Linked DNA regions of Homo sapiens: all the other regions are linked to region 5. Evidence: promoter capture Hi-C in 16 types of primary human blood cells and fetal thymus (Javierre and others, 2016). All regions are on one chromosome and are shown on one strand. The core of a region is centred on a gene start or on the middle of the fragment in contact, and the rest is flanking DNA. Distances in the headings are between cores, read along the strand shown.

The links. The method cuts DNA at HindIII sites, captures the fragments that hold promoters and counts their contacts. A CHiCAGO score of 5 or more calls a contact.
Region 1: a contact is called between a fragment that was not itself captured here and the fragment with the promoter of SSRP1 in region 5, in 5 of 17 cell types (naive CD8 T cells, total CD4 T cells, activated CD4 T cells and 2 more). The highest score is 8.2, in naive CD8 T cells.
Region 2: a contact is called between a fragment that was not itself captured here and the fragment with the promoter of SSRP1 in region 5, in 5 of 17 cell types (naive CD4 T cells, fetal thymus, total CD4 T cells and 2 more). The highest score is 9.0, in naive CD4 T cells.
Region 3: a fragment that was not itself captured here is called in contact with the fragment with the promoter of SSRP1 in region 5 in 6 of 17 cell types (non-activated CD4 T cells, naive CD4 T cells, total CD4 T cells and 3 more); the score reaches 9.9 in non-activated CD4 T cells.
Region 4: a contact is called between a fragment that was not itself captured here and the fragment with the promoter of SSRP1 in region 5, in 1 of 17 cell types (non-activated CD4 T cells). The highest score is 5.6, in non-activated CD4 T cells.
Region 6: a fragment that was not itself captured here is called in contact with the fragment with the promoter of SSRP1 in region 5 in 4 of 17 cell types (activated CD4 T cells, total CD4 T cells, naive CD8 T cells and 1 more); the score reaches 5.5 in activated CD4 T cells.
Region 7: a fragment that was not itself captured here is called in contact with the fragment with the promoter of SSRP1 in region 5 in 4 of 17 cell types (total CD8 T cells, non-activated CD4 T cells, fetal thymus and 1 more); the score reaches 8.2 in total CD8 T cells.

What each region holds. Positions count from the first base shown.
Region 1 is chr11:58,608,076-58,610,775 of GRCh38, forward strand. ZFP91 (ZFP91 zinc finger protein, atypical E3 ubiquitin ligase) reads left to right here. Exons shown (of 11, transcript NM_053023.5): 3 at 1,755-1,964; 4 at 2,223-2,259. It overlaps ZFP91-CNTF (ZFP91-CNTF readthrough (NMD candidate)), which reads left to right. Exons shown (of 13, transcript NR_024091.1): 3 at 1,755-1,964; 4 at 2,223-2,259. Among named protein-coding and RNA genes, the nearest start is that of CNTF, 13 kb to the right of the region's middle. The HindIII fragment of the contact is 4,165 bases long and covers 1-2,700 here.
Region 2 is chr11:58,588,834-58,591,533 of GRCh38, forward strand. All of the region lies in intron 2 of ZFP91 (ZFP91 zinc finger protein, atypical E3 ubiquitin ligase), which reads left to right. The region is part of intron 2 of ZFP91-CNTF (ZFP91-CNTF readthrough (NMD candidate)); the gene reads left to right. Among named protein-coding and RNA genes, the nearest start is that of ZFP91-CNTF, 11 kb to the left of the region's middle. The HindIII fragment of the contact is 5,379 bases long and covers 1-2,700 here.
Region 3 is chr11:58,640,620-58,643,319 of GRCh38, forward strand. No RefSeq gene overlaps it. Among named protein-coding and RNA genes, the nearest start is that of CNTF, 19 kb to the left of the region's middle. The HindIII fragment of the contact is 4,055 bases long and covers 1-2,700 here.
Region 4 is chr11:59,164,718-59,167,417 of GRCh38, forward strand. No RefSeq gene overlaps it. Among named protein-coding and RNA genes, the nearest start is that of DTX4, 6.1 kb to the right of the region's middle. The HindIII fragment of the contact is 1,273 bases long and covers 800-2,072 here.
Region 5 is chr11:57,334,620-57,337,319 of GRCh38, forward strand. It overlaps SSRP1 (structure specific recognition protein 1), which reads right to left and starts at 1,273. Exons shown (of 17, transcript NM_003146.3): 1 at 1,111-1,273; 2 at 449-621; 3 at 1-29. The coding sequence starts at 502. It also overlaps a transcript of P2RX3 not described here. RefSeq lists enhancers at 442-511, 1,362-1,411 and a silencer at 1,012-1,191. The HindIII fragment of the contact is 4,158 bases long and covers 1,211-2,700 here.
Region 6 is chr11:58,674,699-58,677,398 of GRCh38, forward strand. No RefSeq gene overlaps it. Among named protein-coding and RNA genes, the nearest start is that of CNTF, 53 kb to the left of the region's middle. The HindIII fragment of the contact is 5,613 bases long and covers 1-2,700 here.
Region 7 is chr11:59,145,929-59,148,628 of GRCh38, forward strand. All of the region lies in intron 4 of FAM111A (FAM111 trypsin like peptidase A), which reads left to right. Among named protein-coding and RNA genes, the nearest start is that of FAM111A, 4.4 kb to the left of the region's middle. The HindIII fragment of the contact is 5,528 bases long and covers 1-2,700 here.

The DNA of each region.
Region 1 (2,700 bases), core at 123-2,622, 1.3 Mb after region 5:
TATACACACACACACACATACTGTAATGACTAATGTGTAGCACTGTTTTTAAGTAGTAGAAGAGTAGACAACTAAACATTCAAAGGGGGATTGGTTTCATAAGTTATATATTTGTGTGTATATATATCTTACATATATATCTCTCTCTTACATATGTACACAATTATTTGTGAAACCAATCCCTCTTTGAATGTTGTTTTCTACTCTTCTACTACTTAAAAACAGTGCTATATGTTAATCATTTATAAATATGATTGTAATTTTGTAGGATAAATTTCTAGTAGTTGAACATCATGTGGAAAGGTATATACATTTATAATTTTGATGTATATTGTCAAATTGGTCTGCATGGAGGTTTTGCTAATACATTATCATATGTGTGTTAGAGGACCTGTTTTCCCACAGTCTTGACAATACATTATGTTGTCAAATATGATCATCCCCAATATGATACATGAAAAATGGTGTCATGCTATCGTTTTCATTTGAGTCTCTTGTTCTGAGTGGATTGAGCTTTGAGCTTTTGTTTTTTGTTTTTTCTTTTTTTGGAATGGAGTCTTGCTCTTTCGCCGAGGCTGGAGTGCAGTGGCGCAGTCTCAGCTCACTGCAACCTCCACCTCCCGGGTTCAAGTGATTCTCCTGCCTCAGCCTCCCCAGTAGCTGGGATTGCAGTTAGGCACCACGACGCCTGGCTACCTTTTGTATTTTTGGTAGAGACGGGGTTTCACCACGTTGGCCAGGCTGGTCACAAACGCCTGACCTTTTGATCTGCCCGCCTTGGCCACTCAAAGTGCTGGGATTACAGGTGTGAGCCACTGAGCCCGGCCTGTTAGTTCCTATTTTTCTATTGGGTTATTAGACTTTGTTTATGGTTGATTTTTGCCATGAGGAAAATTGTTTTTATGTGTATCTTATGACCTGAAATTTTGTTTTATTATTGGGCCTTTCCCGTTCTGAGTTTATTAAAGAATCTTCTATTGTTAAAATGGGCTCAATTCTAATGTACTTTTTTTTTATATAGGTCTAAGTATTTAGCTACGCCAGGTATGAAAGCCAGTTTCTGAGATTAACTTTTTATTACTTACTACTCAAGAGAGGATGACCTACCGTACTTCACCCTTAAAACATGACAAAATATAGGATAACAATAACAGATTTGTGTGTGCTCCTGTACACAATGTCTTATAGGACAACTGAAACAGAATAGCACCAGAGCTGGACTTTACCATTCAATTGCTCTATAGATTAGTTCAAATTTATGGTGTGGTTCCAAGAAAAACTCTTGATTAGAGTGAAAAGTACTCCTGTTAGGAATTCCTCTTTAGTAATTTGTTATAGACTTGTTTGGTTGTAAATAACATCTAGATCTATGGTTCTTTCTTTTTGGTGCCTCTGTAGTTCTGGTCATCTTTTTGGGACTAATTAATTTAGTTTCTTTTAACTTAGATCTAAAAGGTAGAATTTCATGAATCCAGTTACTTAAGTGTATTTTGCATAGTTAGCATTGCATTTTTTAGAAGATAAGGCAGTATAAAATTACTACTTTGCAACATGAAGTAATTTCTTTAGCATGATGACATTAAGGATAAGTTTTATCTCATTTTCCTTTTTTTATTATTTCAATTAAAGTCTTCAGTTTTTTTTCCTTTGAAAATATTTAATTTATCTTCAACTGTATTTACAATTAGTAGATATACAGGGATGGTTATTGGTTAACTGTAAACTTAAAGAGAATGGTATGTCTTTTTATTTAGATCCCAAGGAAGAAAAAGAGGAAGAAGACGATTCTGCCCTCCCTCAGGAAGTTTCCATTGCTGCATCTAGACCTAGCCGGGGCTGGCGTAGTAGTAGGACATCTGTTTCTCGCCATCGTGATACAGAGAACACCCGAAGCTCTCGGTCCAAGACCGGTTCATTGCAGCTCATTTGCAAGTCAGAACCAAATACAGACCAACTTGATTATGGTACAGTGCAACTAGAATATGGCTGTTTACTAACTAGTTGCTGTTACATTTTAAATGTAATGTTGAACATTTGTGTTAACAGCTTAACTGTCAGGGGCAGGTTTGATGGTGTAGGTGGTATTTCTTTGAACAGTTTGCAGATATTCTGCTTTTGTATAATTACCCCATGCAGTAATTTGATTTGCATTTCTTGACTGCAGAGAGAAAATATCTTATATCTACACTAATAAAATTTTGTTTTTGGCTTTGTTTTTCTAGATGTTGGAGAAGAGCATCAGTCTCCAGGTGGCATTAGGTAAAAAAAACATTAATATTTCATTTTTAAACCTTTGGGGACATAGCATAGTCACAGTAAATGATTCAGAAGTTGCTTCCATTTGAAATTATTTTGAGCTGTAAGAGAAATTAACTTCAGTTTTGATACTGCATTTAGATTCCATGTTGAGCTTGATTAGAACTTAAACCATGTAATCTACTTACATAGCTTAGAAATCATGTCTTGAGTATCTTCTGTGTTTGGACTTATTCCATGGTAGGCACTAATGTGAAATATGGGTGTTTTGGCCAAGGTTTTGAGATTTTATTGGAATCTTTTGTGTTGTGATTTATCTGTTAGTAGGTCTTTTAATATAGCAGATCACCAGACAGTATTACAAAGTCAGTTGTTTCTTAACTTTTAATGCCATTGAGTTGTCATCACCCTGTCTTTATCTAGGATTTATGTCTTTTTAGTTTC
Region 2 (2,700 bases), core at 128-2,627, 1.3 Mb after region 5:
ACTTGTAATTCTTACCATTTGAGTTTGTGTACAAAAGGAAGAATCGAGAAGATACTGAGAACATTGTCTTCACAATTCTTTCTTGAAAGATTTTGAATCTCCTTGCTAATGACCTAGTTTTCCCAGTCAAAATAAAATCTTTTAGGTTTTGAATAGAAAAAGAGTTCTGGAAGGAAAATCTGTAGGTGAGAAAGGGCGTGTATAAGCCCAGTCTTAACACTCAGATAGGCTTTTAAGGTTTTTTTTGTTTGTTTTTGAGACAGGGTCTCATTTTATTGCCCAGGCTGGAGTGCAGTGGTGTGATCATGGCCCACTGCAGTGTTGATCTCCTGGGCTCAAGCCATCCTCCTGCCTCAGCTTCCCAAGTAGCTGGGACTACAGAAGTGTGCCGCCATTTCCAGCTAATTGTTTTTGATTTTTTTGTAGAGACAGGGTCTCACTGTGTTGCCTAGCCTGGTCTGGCTAGGCAGTCCTCTTGCCTCGGCCTCCCAAAGTGCTGGAATTTATAGGCATAAGCCACTACACCCAGCCTGTTAGTTTTAACTGAAATATTCCCCTTTACCAATTAAATGATACTGTTCTAAATTTAAATGTAAGTTAAAAACAACAACAACAACAAAAGCCTCTTTCCCTGGCTTCTCTTAATACTACTGAGATTGGCTAATATTTCAAAGCAAACTTTAATTATTTATGGAAAACAAAGTGCAGCTAGTGATAGAAATACACAGAGTAGTTCAGTTAGGTTTCAGAAACTCAAGTTTCTGACAATATAATGTTCAAGCCTCAAAGGCTAAATACAGTAGATAGACATTTTTGTTTGTCCTTCCTTCCTAATCTTTTATCTTAAGGTAGCAGTAACTGTATTATTTCTCTTAGTATGAGAATAATTTACTCAGACATCTTGTTCCATGTTGGGTATGGCCCAGATCCTTTAATCCGTATTGCTAGTTCAGACATCCAAACCTCCTTTGGTTCTTTTCCATTATTAATTTCCTACAAATAAAGATATATGTCACTTATAATATGTGAATTGTGATGTAGGCTTAAAAAGCCTTGATCATCAGCTTATTTCAGTTATGGGATTACCTATCAGGTAAATGAGTCTTAACTTTATAATAATTTGCCTATTACAGCTCAACTTATTGCCATCTTCGACACAGTTATAAGTTTATTCTGCTATATATATTATTTTACATTGAGATCCCTTTTCCTGCCAAGACCACTTGAGAGTTAAAGCAGAATGCCCTGATAGAAGAAAACTGAAGCAGAGGAAACTTAAAATCCTTAGTGGGGAAAGCCATATTCAGCCAGTACAAATCCAAAACCTTTAAGAGAGACTTGCTTGTATCTTCATTTTGAAATGAGCCTTAGTGGATAAGAATCTGTGACAAAAAGTAATATTGCCCCTTGACTGTTAAGTTCAAGAAAGAAGAAATTCCTCTGAATTAAAACCAGCCTGAATAATCTAATGCTATCCGGGCAAAGGCTTCTTTAGCTTCATAACAAACCATCTAAAAATTTAGTGGCTTAAAACACAGCAATTTATTATTTACTGGTTGGGCCATTCCCCCCTCCTCATTGGTCATTCAGTTCAGACTTGTTTTATATTATGGTGGTTGTGGCGCAGTGTTCCAAAATCCTGAAGGCAGTAACTGCAAGGTGTCTTGAAACCACCCCCACAGTATAATCAATCAGTTGTATTTCTGTATATCAGCAACAAAAAATAGAAAATCGAAGTCATAAAATCAAAATAAAATTTATATTAGTATTTACAACCCTATAAGCAAGATATACTGCTCCATTTACTTAGGTTTTTAATTTTACTCAGCAATGTTTTGTACTTTTCAGTGTATAGGTCTTTCAAATTTTTTATCCCATATATCCCTGAGTATTTCATATTTTTTGATGCTGTTAGCTTAGCTTAATTGGGATTCCCACTGTGTTTAAGAGTGGGATTGATTCTTTAAGAAAGAAGAGGTGCCTAGATGCTTTGTGGATATCCAGTCATGGCTACTGTACATTTATATTCTATTATTTAACCGTTACCTAACTGAAGGGCATTTGATATTTCTGGGTTTTTTTTTTTTCCTGAGATTACAGGTGATTTTTAGAGAAATCCTATTAAAATGTACCATACGTATACAGAAATGCACATATTATAAGACATATACATGTACTCTTGTTTCTCCTCCCCCTTCTTTATTTTATAAGTGGGTGGACCCAGGGTGAGCCCAATCATGTAACCATTTACACAACTGAAGAAATAAAACATAATTGTTTTGGAAACTCCCTTATGCTCCTTCAAGTCAACCGCCCCCAAGTGTAACCACTATTTTGACTTTAGCAGAAATTAGATTTGCCAATTTTTGAATTTTACATAAATGGGATAATACAGTAGGCACTCTTTTGTGTCTCGCTTATTTTGCTCATCATTTGTGACAAATGCTGTGTTTGTCATAGATCGTTTATTTTAGTTGTTGTATAGTGTCCCATTGTGGGAATATAACCACAGTTTAACTGTTTTACTGTTGATGGATGTTTGGGCAGTTTTCAGTTATTAGTCTTTATGACTAGTACTGTGATGTATATTTTTGAAATATAGTGTTATTGGGATGTAATTTATACATCATAAAATTCACCCATTTCAAATGTACAATTTAGGGATCTTGGTACATTGTATGAATTGCACACCTATCACAA
Region 3 (2,700 bases), core at 102-2,601, 1.3 Mb after region 5:
AGTCTTCAGAGTCAGATGCCAAGTCCTCATGTGACCTTAGAAAAGAAGTGTGACTTCCTGTAAAACAGGAACAAACAGGACTTTTTAGCTGTTAACTTAAAAAAATTACAACACATGCTTGTTATGGAAAATTAAAAGTGTAAAGAGGTTATATAAGGTAAAAAATACCTTCTTCATCCAGCTGTGCTTCCCAGAGATAACCACTGTAAATAGGAGGTGTGTCACCTTCCAGACATGTTTCTATGTGTGCACACATGGACCCAGGCACATAGGCACATACTACTTTCTTTTACAAAAATATAATAGTGCCAGGCCATATATACTTTTGCCTATGGAGAAGCTGATTCCCAGAGAAAAGAAGTGATGTGCACAAGGTCACACAAAGACAGATTGGAGCAGAGATGGCCCTGACCCTGTGTCTCTTGCCTGTATTTCCAGACTCAGACCGCCTCCTACCCTGCCTCACTCTCTTGGGCTGTGTGCATTCTAATTGAGCACCATAGGGGATACAAATGCAGACAATTATTCTGGCAGATAGTCAAGGGCAATAGTCAAAATATTTACTACTCTGCAAGTTGCAGCCCCAGCCAATCAGAACTAACATTGGCTGCAAATGACCTTCCTGAGGTTACTGGCTAAATATTGGCCCTGCATGTAGGAGTCTCATTTCACACCCTACATATCTCTCCACGGATGGCTGGGAAGGAATCCATGAATGAATAAATGAGGATGCAAAGTGATCTGAAATAATATCGCAAAGGAAGAAAAACTTCTTTCAATAGAAGTGTAATGTTATCAACTGCAGTGTTATCTGCCTATATATTTTTACAATCAGAGCCCTGTGAAAGGAGAAGAGGCAATAATAGAAAATGAAGGAAATAGAAAGGAGATGTTTATTGGAGTTCAACAGAACTGGACTCGAGATATGGCTCTGCGCTTAGTGGCTCTCAGACCCTGGGCAAGTGACTTAATCTCCTTGACTTTTTTTTTTTTTTTCCTGTAAACATCTGTGAATGTGAGGAGGAGAGGCACAAAAAGTAACTTAACCATGATTATACTAATTAAGGGACAGATAGGCTGAGGGGTCTGAGGGACTTTTAGTCTAGTGGGCTTATAATTTAATGTCAGGGGTAGCCCAGGGATCCTGAATTTTGCCAACAGAAAAATCATGAGATCTATGCAGATTTGGACACAGGACTTTATTTCTCATAAAGGGTTATAGCCTGCCAATGGTCATCCTGACAGGCTGAGAAGTGTACCTTCAACAGAGACCGAAAGGCAGTACTTTGAAGAAGGAGGGGTTGAGGCAGGAGCTTTATGCTACATAGGTTGGCTAAATATACATATTCAACAGGTTACAGGAGAAGCTATGAATATTCACCAAGTGGTTTCTGATGCATGCATACTGAATAAACATGCATGCTACAAATGATCTATGTTCATATTGGAGAGGGTACTTAACATTTAAATTTATTACAATGAGGCTGTCTATATTTCAGAAGATAAAACAGGGACATAAATGTTCTCAAGTGCAAAGCCTCTATAAAACCGACCAGAACCAGTCCATAGTCGGTGGTCTTTTACCAGGAAAGTTACTGAAATCTCTTTCTTGTCTAATCAAAGCTGTAGTTATGGCTTGTGGAACAGGAGGTCGGTTAGTCAGCACATGGTGGTGAATGAGCTGCAGTTATTTTAATATTGCTTTCCTTGAGGCCAGTGCTTGTTGAGCTGCTTAAGAAAGAAAAACCTTGTGGCAGTTAAAACAAAGTTTATTCTTTAAGTGTAGGGGTGCGTGACTTAACCTTTGCCTGACATGGGCGTAGGTCCTGTTTATAATTGGATATCTTACTGCCACAAAGAGTCTGTTCTGTCAGTCATATGATCTCTATTTTAACATTCATGCTGGTCAGTTGGTGTGTCTGTATACAAAAGGGAGAGGATATAACGAGGCTTGTGTGATCTCTTGTCTCCTTATGGCCAGGAACTCCATTTTTAAGGTTTCTCTGAGGTCTCCTTGGCCAAGAGAGAGTCTGTTCAATTGGTTGGGGTGGGTGCTTAAGGTTTAAATTTTAGTTCTCAATCCCATATAGGGTCTTGAGACCTTTCTCATCCTCGATTCAATCTGAGGGCAATTCTGAGTTAAATCTCCAAATAACTTCTATTCTCTCCTTGTGCACCTCATCTCTACCCCAACATACACAGGAGAAGATCACCTGAACAATAAACTTGTAGGTTTAAAGAAACTACTAGGCACCTGGCAATCCCTTGCTTCCTGCAGTCTTCCTGTCTTTCTTGAGATACTTTTTCTTAAGGATTTCTCATGGGTCTGCCTCACTTGACAATGGATATATATACTCTCAGTATTTAGCGTGGAGAAGACCCAGACTCATGAAAGAGATGCAGAGAACTAGCAGGGAGAGACAGAGACAGAGACAGAGAAAAGCCATGACTAGCATCACTAAATTAACCATGTCCTCGAGACTCATAATTCATACCATCGTTATATGTTCTCTAGGTAATTTCTGCAACCTTCCAACAAGTATTCCCATCTCCTGAAGGACAGCTGGGATCATGGCAAACTCTGAGACAAAAACCTGCAGTGGCTCGTTGTTTATAGCATTGGCTCCCAATTAAGCCTGTTAAAAATAGAGGTTTTGGGTTTCAATGTATGGAACTTTAGAAGACGAGTTCTGAGAACTA
Region 4 (2,700 bases), core at 186-2,685, 1.8 Mb after region 5:
GGGATGCACATCTCATTAAGTATTTGAAAATCAATGCAATCCACCATATTAGCAGTCTGAAGAAACAAAATCTCATGATCATATCAATTGATACCAAAAAAGCATTTAATAAAACTCAATATCTGTTCATGATTTAAAAAACTCTCAGAAAAATAAGGATAGAGGAAAACTTCCTCAACTTGATAAAGAACATCTAAAATGAACACCTACAGCTATTATCACAGTTCTTAGTGAAAAACTAGATGTTATCTAAGATCAGAAACAAGGCAAGAATGTCTATTCTCACAACTGTATTAAACATAGTACTGGAAATTCCAGGTAATACAATTCTAAGTAAGGCAAGAAAAGGAAATGAAAAACATAAGGATCGGCCGGGCGCGGTGGCTCACGCCTGTAATCCCAGCACTTTGGGAGGCCAAGGCGGGCGGATCACGAGGTCAGGAGATCAAGACCATTCTGGCTAACCCAGTGAAACCCCGTCTCTACTAAAAATACAAAAAATTAGCCAGGCGTGGTGGCGGGCGCCTGTAGTCCCAGGTACTCGGGAGGCTGAGGCAGGGGAATGGCGTGAACCTGGGAGGCGGAGCTTGCAGTGAGCCGAGATTGCGTCACTGCACTCCAGCCTGGGCGACAGAGCAAGACTCCGTCTCAAAAAAAAAAAGAAAGAAAGAAAAGAAAAGAAAAGAAAAGCATAAGGATCAGAAATGAAGAAACAAAATTGTCCCTATTTGGAGATGACATGTAAACTCCTAAGGAATCTATAAAAGAACTCTTAGACCCAGATTTGGACTCCTTAGCAAGCTTACAAGATACTAAATAAACATACAAAAATCCATTGTATTTATATGTACCAGCAATAAGTACGTGGAACCAAAATTAAAAATAGAATGCCATTTATTAATATAATCACTCTGAAACAAAATGAACTACTTAAGTGTACATTGAGCAAAAAATGAACTGGATAGGTATGCTGAAAACTAGAAAACACATAAAACAAAGAAGATCTAAATAAATAGAGAAGCATATCCATATCGTGTTTATGGATTGGAAGACTTAACACAGTAAAAATATGTCAATTCTCCTCAAATTGATATACAGCTTCAATGCAATTCCTATCAAAATCCCAGCAAGAATTTTTGCACATATAGACAAGATTATTCTAGTATTTATGTGGAAATCAAAGGATCCAGAATAGCCTAAACAATTTTGAAGAAGAATAAAGTGAGATGAATCAATCTACCCAATTTACAATAAGACATTACATAGCTTATTAATACAGCTTATTAATCAACATTGTGCAGTAGTGGTGAAGGGACAGACATATAGGTCAATGGAACAGACTAGAGAAACCAGAAATAGATCTACACAAATATGCCAGACTGATTTTTTTACAAAGACTCAAAAGCAATTCAAAGGAGGAAGAAAAGCCTTTTCAACAAATAGCGCTAGGACAATACATCTATAGGCAAATAAACACATAAAAAGACACTCAAACCTCACTCCATACACAAAAATTTAACTCAGAATGGATTGTAGATTTACATGGAAGTTGTAAAAGTATGAAAGTTTTAGAACAAAACAGAGGAAAAAAATATTCAAATCTTAGGACTAGCCAAAGAGTTCTTAAAATTAACATGGGAAACAGAAGCCATTTAGAAAAAAAAAATTTGGTAAGTTGTATTTTATCAAATTAAAAAACTTTTGTTTTGTGAAAGACGCTATGAAGAGCATGGAAAACATAAGCTACAGATTGAGAAAAAATATTTTCAAACTATATATCCACCAAGAGTATTTATTTATTTATTTATTTGAGACTAGGATTCACTCTGTTGCCCAGGCTGGAGTGCAACATCACCATCACAGCTCACTGCAGCCTCAACCTCCCAGACTCAAGCGATCCTCCCACCTCAGCCTCACAAGTAGGTGAAACCACAAGCCTGCACCACCGCGGCCAGCTAATTTTTGTATTTTTTGTAGAGACAGGGTTTCCCCATGTTGCCCATGCTGATCTCCAGCTCTTGAGCTCAGGCAATCGAACTCCTGACTGGGCTTCCCAAAGTGCTAGGATTACAAGCTTGAGCCACTGTGCCCAGCCCAATATTTAGAATATAAAAAGAACTCTCTAATTTCAATAATAGAAAACAGAAACCAGCAAAAGACCTGAACAGATATCAAAGAGCATATATGGCAAATAAACGCATGGAAAGATGTTCAACATTATTAGTCAATAAGGAAACAAGTTAAAAACAATGAAATAACTCTACACACTTACCAAAATGGCTAAAATAAAATATACTGACCAAAAAATGATGGTGAAGATGTAGTGACCAGATCATGGGTATATTGCTGGTGAAAATTCAAAATGGTGCAGCCACTTTAGAAAACTGGCAGTTTGTTAAAAAAGCTAAACATGCAACTACCCTATGACCTTGCCATTGTACTCCTAGGCATTTATCACAGAGAAATGGATACTTTACCTTCACACAAAAACCTGGATGAGAGTGTTCATAGTAGCTTTATTCATAATAGCCCAAACTAGAAACAACTTATATGAACTTCCATGGATGAACAGTAAGGTGGTCCATGGATACTATGGAACACTACTTAGCAATAAAAAGAAACAAACTTCTCTTGATACACACAACTTGGATGAATCTTTAGAGAATTAAGCTGAGTGGAAAAAGCCTATCTTAAAAGATT
Region 5 (2,700 bases), core at 23-2,522:
TGACGGCTCAACCTCAGTCGACCATCATTCTGTAAGAAAAGCAGGCCCAGATGCATGGAGACAGTACACAGCATGTCCTGGGTTCTACAGCTCTACCTAACACACATTCCTGCTGCAAGTGGACTGGCCAGATTATCAATGCAGGAGCAACAGCTGAGGGTGCCAAGGAGTCTAGATTCTAAACCAGACTCTGGTATCTAGAACCCTTAACAGATTCTCAGTTTCCTCATTTGTAAAACAGGAATTGGGAACTGAACAGCATATACGGTCCCTATAACTCTGAGACTATCTCTCAGTATTGCCTTGAGTTGGTGGAGACACTAGGTACACATTATACTGAGTCTTCTTTTTCCAAAATAACGTTACCAAAGCAAGCTCTCATTAATGGACAAAAACTCTACCCTCCTTCCTTCTCTCTACTTGTATCACCTGTCCAAGCCATTCTCACCATGGAACCTTTCACCTCCTGATAGACGTCGTTGAACTCCAGTGTCTCTGCCATGTCGACCCCTGCCTGTGGTGGCCTGGGCAGAGCCCCAGGCTGCACAAGGGAAACCAAGTAAACTGGGAGCTGGGCCCCAACTCCTGAGTGGGTGTGCGGATGCTCAGCAGGTTGGGAATCTGAATTCAAGAGGAAGACAGATAAGCATGAAAGACAGCACCTCGCTGTGCTCACGGATGGAGCCAGGTAGCAACTCCCAGCTGCGCCTGGATGTCTCAGGATTTCCTCTGCCTGGAAACCTACAGACGGACGCTGCAGTGCCCGAGGGTCCAGGTCCAGGCCTGGGTGGAGAACCGGGCCCGGAATACCGCTGACACCCAACCCGACGCCCGCTCTGGCCGCTCCGGCGGGAGCCATGGCAACGAGCAGCGGAACCCCAGGGTCTGCCAGGAGCCCGCACATCGCACGCGACCCAATCCAGCTCAGAGTGCAGGGTTTCCCTCGCACCGCTCCCACCACCCCGCGGCCCCAGACCCACGGTTCACCCCCGCCCCACATAATGGATTCGCCCGCTCCCCGCGGTTGCGAACGCGGAATGGTCCATGTCGAGGGTCCCGTGGGGGAGCGGGGCCCCTGCCTTCCTGGGACCGGGGACGACCACCACCTACCTCCTCAGGCTGCGGCCTCGCGAGGGCCCCGGCGCGAGAGGTGGGCGCGCTGGGGGGACGCGGGGGGGGCGCGGGGAGGGGGATGGGGGGACACCGGGGAAGCTTTTCCCGCGTGCGCGGCCCCGCGTCCCGCCACCGGAAGCCGTACACAGGCCACAGAGAGGATGAGCTGGCTAGAGAGACGCGAGTCGGGCCCGCCTGCGAGACAGTCGCATAGAGCGTCAGCGACTCTGGAGGACCTGAGGGAAGGGTGGTTGCCGTGAAGCCTCTCTCACCCAGGGGGAATCCGGCCTAGAAAATGTGTGTAGGGCTCTTTAGAAACTACAGACACTTCTTCAGTCGAGACTAGATACTAAAGAGAAATTGTGTAGTTTTATTGTATCAGACTTAGTACAGGGGTGGGGTGGGGGTGTGTATTGGAATGATGCGTGCCCGTTTCTCTGCAAAATAGTTTCTATGTCATGGAAAGGAGTCGATGGGACAAGAAGAGAAGTATTTGAACAGTTGTGGGAGGAAACGACCTCTCCCACTGGCTGCGGAGAGTATGCGGGTGTTGGTGTCATCGTGGGTGCACTGCTTTCTGGCTGAACTGTCAAGTTCACTGTCTACACCCAAAATTTTCACATCCTTAACCGAAAATTATAGGTACCTCCAAGAGGCTGGCAAACGGCCTTATCCAGTTCAAGTCCTGGTGTCAGATTCACCTTGGAGCCAGAACTGATTTGAAACCACATCATCCTGTGGTTGCGGAAGCCAGGTCTCCCCCGTATAATCCCAGAGTGCATTTTGCAACATCAGAGACCAGACCTGGAAAAGATGTTTTAGTTTTTCTACCCCAACCTCCTTTTACTGATGGGAAAACTGAGACCCAAAGGGGAGTGAGTTGCCCAGGGTCTCAGTGCGTTGGCAACAAGGCTAGGTAGGACCCAGACCTCCTTAACACCACCAGTCCAGTTATCTTCTGTCATAATCACAGTGACTGTATGTTCAGAATGACTATTGATATGTGTCCTACATGAAGACATTAGTACAGAATATGTAAGCTCAAGATTTCCCTGACAATCAATACACCAGCTTGCTAAATCAATCCTGGGGTAAGAGACAACAGGAATGCACCCTTCTCCCCTGAACTCATAGCTTTAACCTCTGAGTAGTGGCTATTCCAGCATTATCTAGCAAAATAAATTCAACTGGGTTTAATAAATAGATATTGAGGGCCTATTACTACTTTAGCACACTTCTCAGATTTGAGGAAACTTGAACAAGGTGAAAACATCCCCGGCCAGGCACGGTGGCTCACACCTGTAATCCTAGCACTTGGGGAGGCCAAGGCAGGGAGATCACTTGAGGTCAGGAGTTTGAGACCAGACTGGCCAACGTGGTGAAGCCCCGTCTCTATTAAAAATACAAAAATTAGCCAGGCGTGGTGGCGGGTGCCTATAATCCCAGCTACTCAGGAGGCTGAGGCATGAGAATTGCTTGAACCCAGGAGGCAGAGGTTGCAGTGAGCTGAGATTGTGCCACTGCACTCCAGCCCGGGTGACAGAGCGAGACTCTGTCAAAAAAAAAAAAAAAAAGAAAGAAAGAAAA
Region 6 (2,700 bases), core at 187-2,686, 1.3 Mb after region 5:
AAACACTACAGTTGGAAGATTTCCCAGCTGACCCTGACAGAGTGCCGGTTGCCAGCCTACTGAGACAGCCAAGTAAAAAGGGTTCCCCGGCAGGACTTCCGACTGGCCTGCGCACTGGGAGGAGTGCGCACTCGGGTGAAGCCTTGAGGAATTTCCTGTTGGTTTGCAGTGAGGAGGAGCCTGGCTTCTCCTGTTCCGGGTGGTAACCCGGTGATTCCAGTCTATGAGGTGGGAAGCCCACTGGCAGGACTCTCGCTTTGCTGAGAGTCCCTGTTTCCCCATTTTTCCTTTTCACCCAATAAACCCTGTCCTTCTCACCCTGCAGAGTGTCCGCAAGCCTAACTTTTCATGGTTGTGCGAGAAGAACCTGGCTTTTAGCCGAACTAAGGAGAAAGTCCTACAACACTACAACACTCTTCCCTACCTTGCCTGGCTCCGTCCTCTACCATGCTGTCCTGCCATAAGTCAGATTGGACAGAGGACGGGTCTTATAAACATTCCTTATTGATCAATAGCTGCAGACCTTAAGCCAGTTTCAGTCAGCTTGTGGACATTGTTCAAAAATTGTCTGTATGTCCTGTAGTTTACCTTTTGATGTAAAGGGCCGAATTCCACTTCATTTTAATGTTAAATCCTACCAAAATGTGAATATGGGATGTATGTTCCATATATGTTTTCCACTGTGCAATGCCTGACTTCCCTCATGCATATTTGCATTTTTTCCCCACCCTGCTAGTATGTATGTAAGGCTGAGTGTGCGACCCAGATACCAAATAGCAGCCCTCCTCCGTTCTGCGCAAAGTGCACTTTCCCTCTCCCCAGGGCAGCGTTTCCTAGATCCGTGGATTGTTTTGCCTTCTGCAAATAAAGTCTCCTCTTTTCCTTCATCCGTGAATTTCACAATCTTTGTGAATAGATACATACTATGCATGAGGCTAAAATCACCTGAAATCTCAACAACTTAAACTCAGAGGCACTCATCATCTTTCAGCGTTCTCAGGGAGGGATCCTGGTTCTGCAGCCTTGGCTACCTCTGCTGCCCTCTGCTGGCGGAGCGGAGTCCGCAAAGTCCAGAGCAAGGGACTGCCCTGGGATCTCCAGGCACACTTTGTCCTGAACGTTGTCAAGGGCTTTCTCCAAAGCCATATAGGTAATACAAATTCAAATCATCCAGCAAACCAGTGCCAGGATACCTATGAGGCTATGGAAGTGTTATTCACGCAGGCATACATTCAGGAAATGTCATCTCCATCATTCCAATTTCCTAGACCTTGTTGTCATTCTTGAACTACTTTCTCTCCCTTAGTCCAGGTCTTCTGAAACTCCTGGACTGGATTAGATGTGCAGGAGATTTATTAGGAGACTGTGAAGCAAAAAGAAAGGGAGCTGGGGGAGGCTGGGAGAGCTGTCAGTCTGCAATCTAAGTCTACTTTAAGTCTCCCTCGTGGAGAGAAAAAAAGAGGAGGTATTAGGCCCACGGGGTTCTTGGGTGAAAATTGCCCCATCAGAAGAGTCCCCTGTCTTCCTGCTGTGCTGTTACAGGCAGGAGAAGCCCGTGAGAAGCATGAAATCAGAAGTAAGAAGGGTGGATTTCAAAGCCAGCTACTAGGGTCACTGGTCAATGATATTACTGACAGAAGGAGGTCTGAGGCGTGAATTTTCGTGGCCTCCACACCGCACGTTCAATCAGTCAGCAAATCCTTTTGGCATTACCTTTAAAGTGTCCTACCACTTCTCAACATTTCCACCATTCCCACTCTGGTCCAACCCTTCACTGTCTCCTTGCTTCCACCTTTGCCTTTCCACAATCTCATCTCAATACAGCCCCTCAGTCATGGATGTCTGTCTCTTGCTCAAAGCCCTGCTCAGAAAAATAGCCACAGTCTTCACCATGGCCCACAAGACCCTACACGTGATTACCCCTTGTATCTTTTTGCCCTTATCTCCCTCAACTCTTCCCTTTCCCACACTGGCCTCCTTACTGCTTGCTCTGTTTTCAACACCCATGAATCTATCTATCTATCTATCTATCTATCTATCTATCTATCTATCTATCTATCATCTATCTATTATCTATCTATCTATATCTTCTATTTACCTATCTCTATCTATCTATCATCTATCTCCTATCTATCTACCTATCTATCATCTATATCTCTATCTTCTATTTACCTATCTTATCTATCTATCTATCTATCTATCATCTATCATCTATCTATCTATCTATTCTGTGTTTTTAGACACAGGGTCTCACTCTGTCACCCAGCTGGAGTGCAGTGGAAAGATCACAGCTCACTGCAGCTTCTGGGCTCAAGTGATCCTCCTGCCTACCTCCCATGTAGCTAGGACTACAGGCAAATGCCACCTCTCCTGACTTCTTTTTTATAACAGGGGGTACATGTGCAGCTTTGTTACATAGATATATTGTGTATTGCTGAGGTTTGGGCTTCCATCAAACCCATCAACACCTGTAATACACGAGTGAAAGTTGTGTTTGAAAGGCAAGAAGAGAAGGACCAGCTCAAAATCAACAGATGTACAAGTTGGAACAAATTTCACTCAGGGCTGTTATTTATCAGAGCTAGTTTATGCATAACTTGGCGGGTTGACCCTTGACTCCATTTTGATTTTTGCTAAGCATTTTTCAAGTAGGAGCACTGCCAGCTGAACTATTAGGCAGTTGAAGAAATAACAAGTACT
Region 7 (2,700 bases), core at 34-2,533, 1.8 Mb after region 5:
AGGCAGTGTTTTAAAGGCTTTGCATATGCTCTCTCTCTCTCTCTATATATATATATATTTACACACACTGTATATATAGATAGATTGCATATATAATATATATAATATGTGTGTGTATGTGTGTATATATATATTGTGTGTGTGTGTGTGACAGAGAGAGAGAGAGAGAGATGAAGTCTCGCTCTGTTGCTCAGGCCTCAGGCTGGAGGGCAGTGGTGTGATCTCGGATCACTGCAACCTCTGCCTCCCAGGTACAAGCCACTCTCCTGCCTCAGTCTCCCAAGTAGCTGGGATTACAGGCACCCACCACCATGCCCAGCTAATTTTTAATTCTTAGTAGAGACAGGTTTTCACCAGGTTGGCCAAGCTGGCCTCGAACTCCTGACTTCAAGTGATCCATCAGCGTTGGCCTCCCAAAGTGCTGAGATTACAGGCATGAGCTACCGCACCCAGACCACAATATATTTCTTAATCTTTATAACAAGGTTGATTCCCACCTTAAGGTGAGGAAAATGAAGGAAGAATAGTTAATTAATATGCCCAAGGTCATGCAGCTAGTAAGTGGCTACCTGATATTTGAACTCAGACAGTTTTATAAGTTCTAACATTATTTTAGCACTTCCATATTCATTATCTCATTTAGAATCATTGCTTCTTTTTACAAACAAGAAATTGAGGCTCAGAAAGGCTAAATGAATTTCCCTAGTCAATGACTGACAGTAAACTAGAAAGCCAGGACTCTTGTTCCATAGTGGAATGGTTACGAGAGTAAACATAGCCTTTAGATAACTTCCATTTGACAAGAAATACAGGGGCTAGAACATAAGTTAAACAATGACATGAGGAAACAACCCAGGAGGTGAACATTCTATAGAGACAATTTCTCTGTTCTCTTCAACAAATCAGTGCTTTTTCTAGAATAAAAGAGCCTTATAAGACATATAAAGGAAACTGTGTACCTCAGTTGGATCTTGGTATGAATAAATCAGTATTGTGATTATAAAAGAAAAATTATGTAATTTTTAGAGATGGGAAGTGACCATTAGCGTTTAAATGTCATGATGTTTCTAGCTGTAACATAAATCATCTAGTAAAATAAAAGGATGGTGTAAGGGTAGCCAAACCCGGGTTTGGCAACTCACACCTCAAAGCCAAACATGAGAGATGAGAGTTGGTGGGAGGAAAAGCAGGTTCATTCAGAGAGCCAGCAAACTGAGAAGATGGCAGACTAGCAACCCAAAGTAGCCTCTTAAGTGAGTACAAGTTTCAGGCTCTTTATGTTAAGGGCATGGGGAAGAGAAGGGATTTACGATCAAGAGGTGACCATTGACTGGAGACATCTGAGCACCATCAAGGATCCAAGAAGGTTGGGAATGTCTTTGTCCTGATGTTCCAGTGAGCCCAAGCATTGATTTGCTGAAGAGAACAGATAAGTTGTCTCTATAGAATGTTAATTTCCTGGGCTGCTTCTACATGTTGTTGTTTAGCTTATGTTCTAGCCCCTGTATTTCTTGTCAAATGGAAGTTATCTAAAGATTATATTTATATTTGTTCTCCAGGTCACAACCCTCCTGTAAATTTTTAACAATCCATAGTTGTTTACATACTTTCCCTTTAATCCCAGAGCTAGTTTTTAAAACTACATTTTTTTTGCATATTATCTCACTGCTCTAAAATTAACCTCCCCTCCATGCATGAATGGATAAAGACCCCGTGAACAAAAATAGAGTTCTTTATGTTAGTTCTTTTACTGTTTCACTGTTACATAAATTGGCAAAAAAATGAACAATTAACTATGTGATAGGTATGTAGAAGTTCATTATACCATTCTCTCATTTTTTCTCTAATAAATTGTTCATAATAAAAAGTCCTGAAAGTATATTCTCTGAGTTTTATGACCTTGAGTAAAAGTTTAATCTCCCTGGGTGTTCAAGCTCTTTTGCCAGTAAAATGAGACAAATAGTACCTATCTCATAGGGTTGTAAGAATTACATGAGATAGTTGATGAAAAGCACTTAGAACAGGGCATAGTACACCATATGCCTACTCCATTCGTTTATTGAATGTATCTTTAGAAATGTATCTTTTTCAAGGGCCTGACATGTCTCAGACATTGTTTTGAAATATTGAGGTACTAAGGACAGACATGGCTGCTGCCCTCAATGGTATTTATCTTTCTAGCGGTATTTATTACTATTGAAGATGTCACTATTTTATTTAAAGTTTGTTCATCCTCTTCTAGGGAGACATCAGAGGAGAGATAGAAGGAAAAATACCTCTTTAAACAAAAAATCTAAAGCAGCAACTAAGGTTTCTGACTATCATCCCTAGCAAACTTTCCAGATTTCTTTTTAAAATCTCATTCCAAGTTTCTTTCCTCAGCTCTATCCTCACCACTTCCCTGTAATTTTATCTCCCCTTGCCATCTTCATCTTAAATGAATAACAGATTTTAACATCAATGTAACTAGAACAGCTTTTTGAAATTTCCAACTGAAAATTATTCTATTATTTATACTTGCATTTGAATTCCATCTCTGCCACATAGCTCTGGCCTTGGGCAGTTCGTCTACCTTCTCTAAGCTATACTTTCCCCATCAGCAAAGTGTAGCTATACCTAATTTGCATAGCATCCGCAGGAATTTGCAGCTAGAGATAATTTTCATAAAGTGTTTAGTATAATTTTCATGAAGTGCCTGAC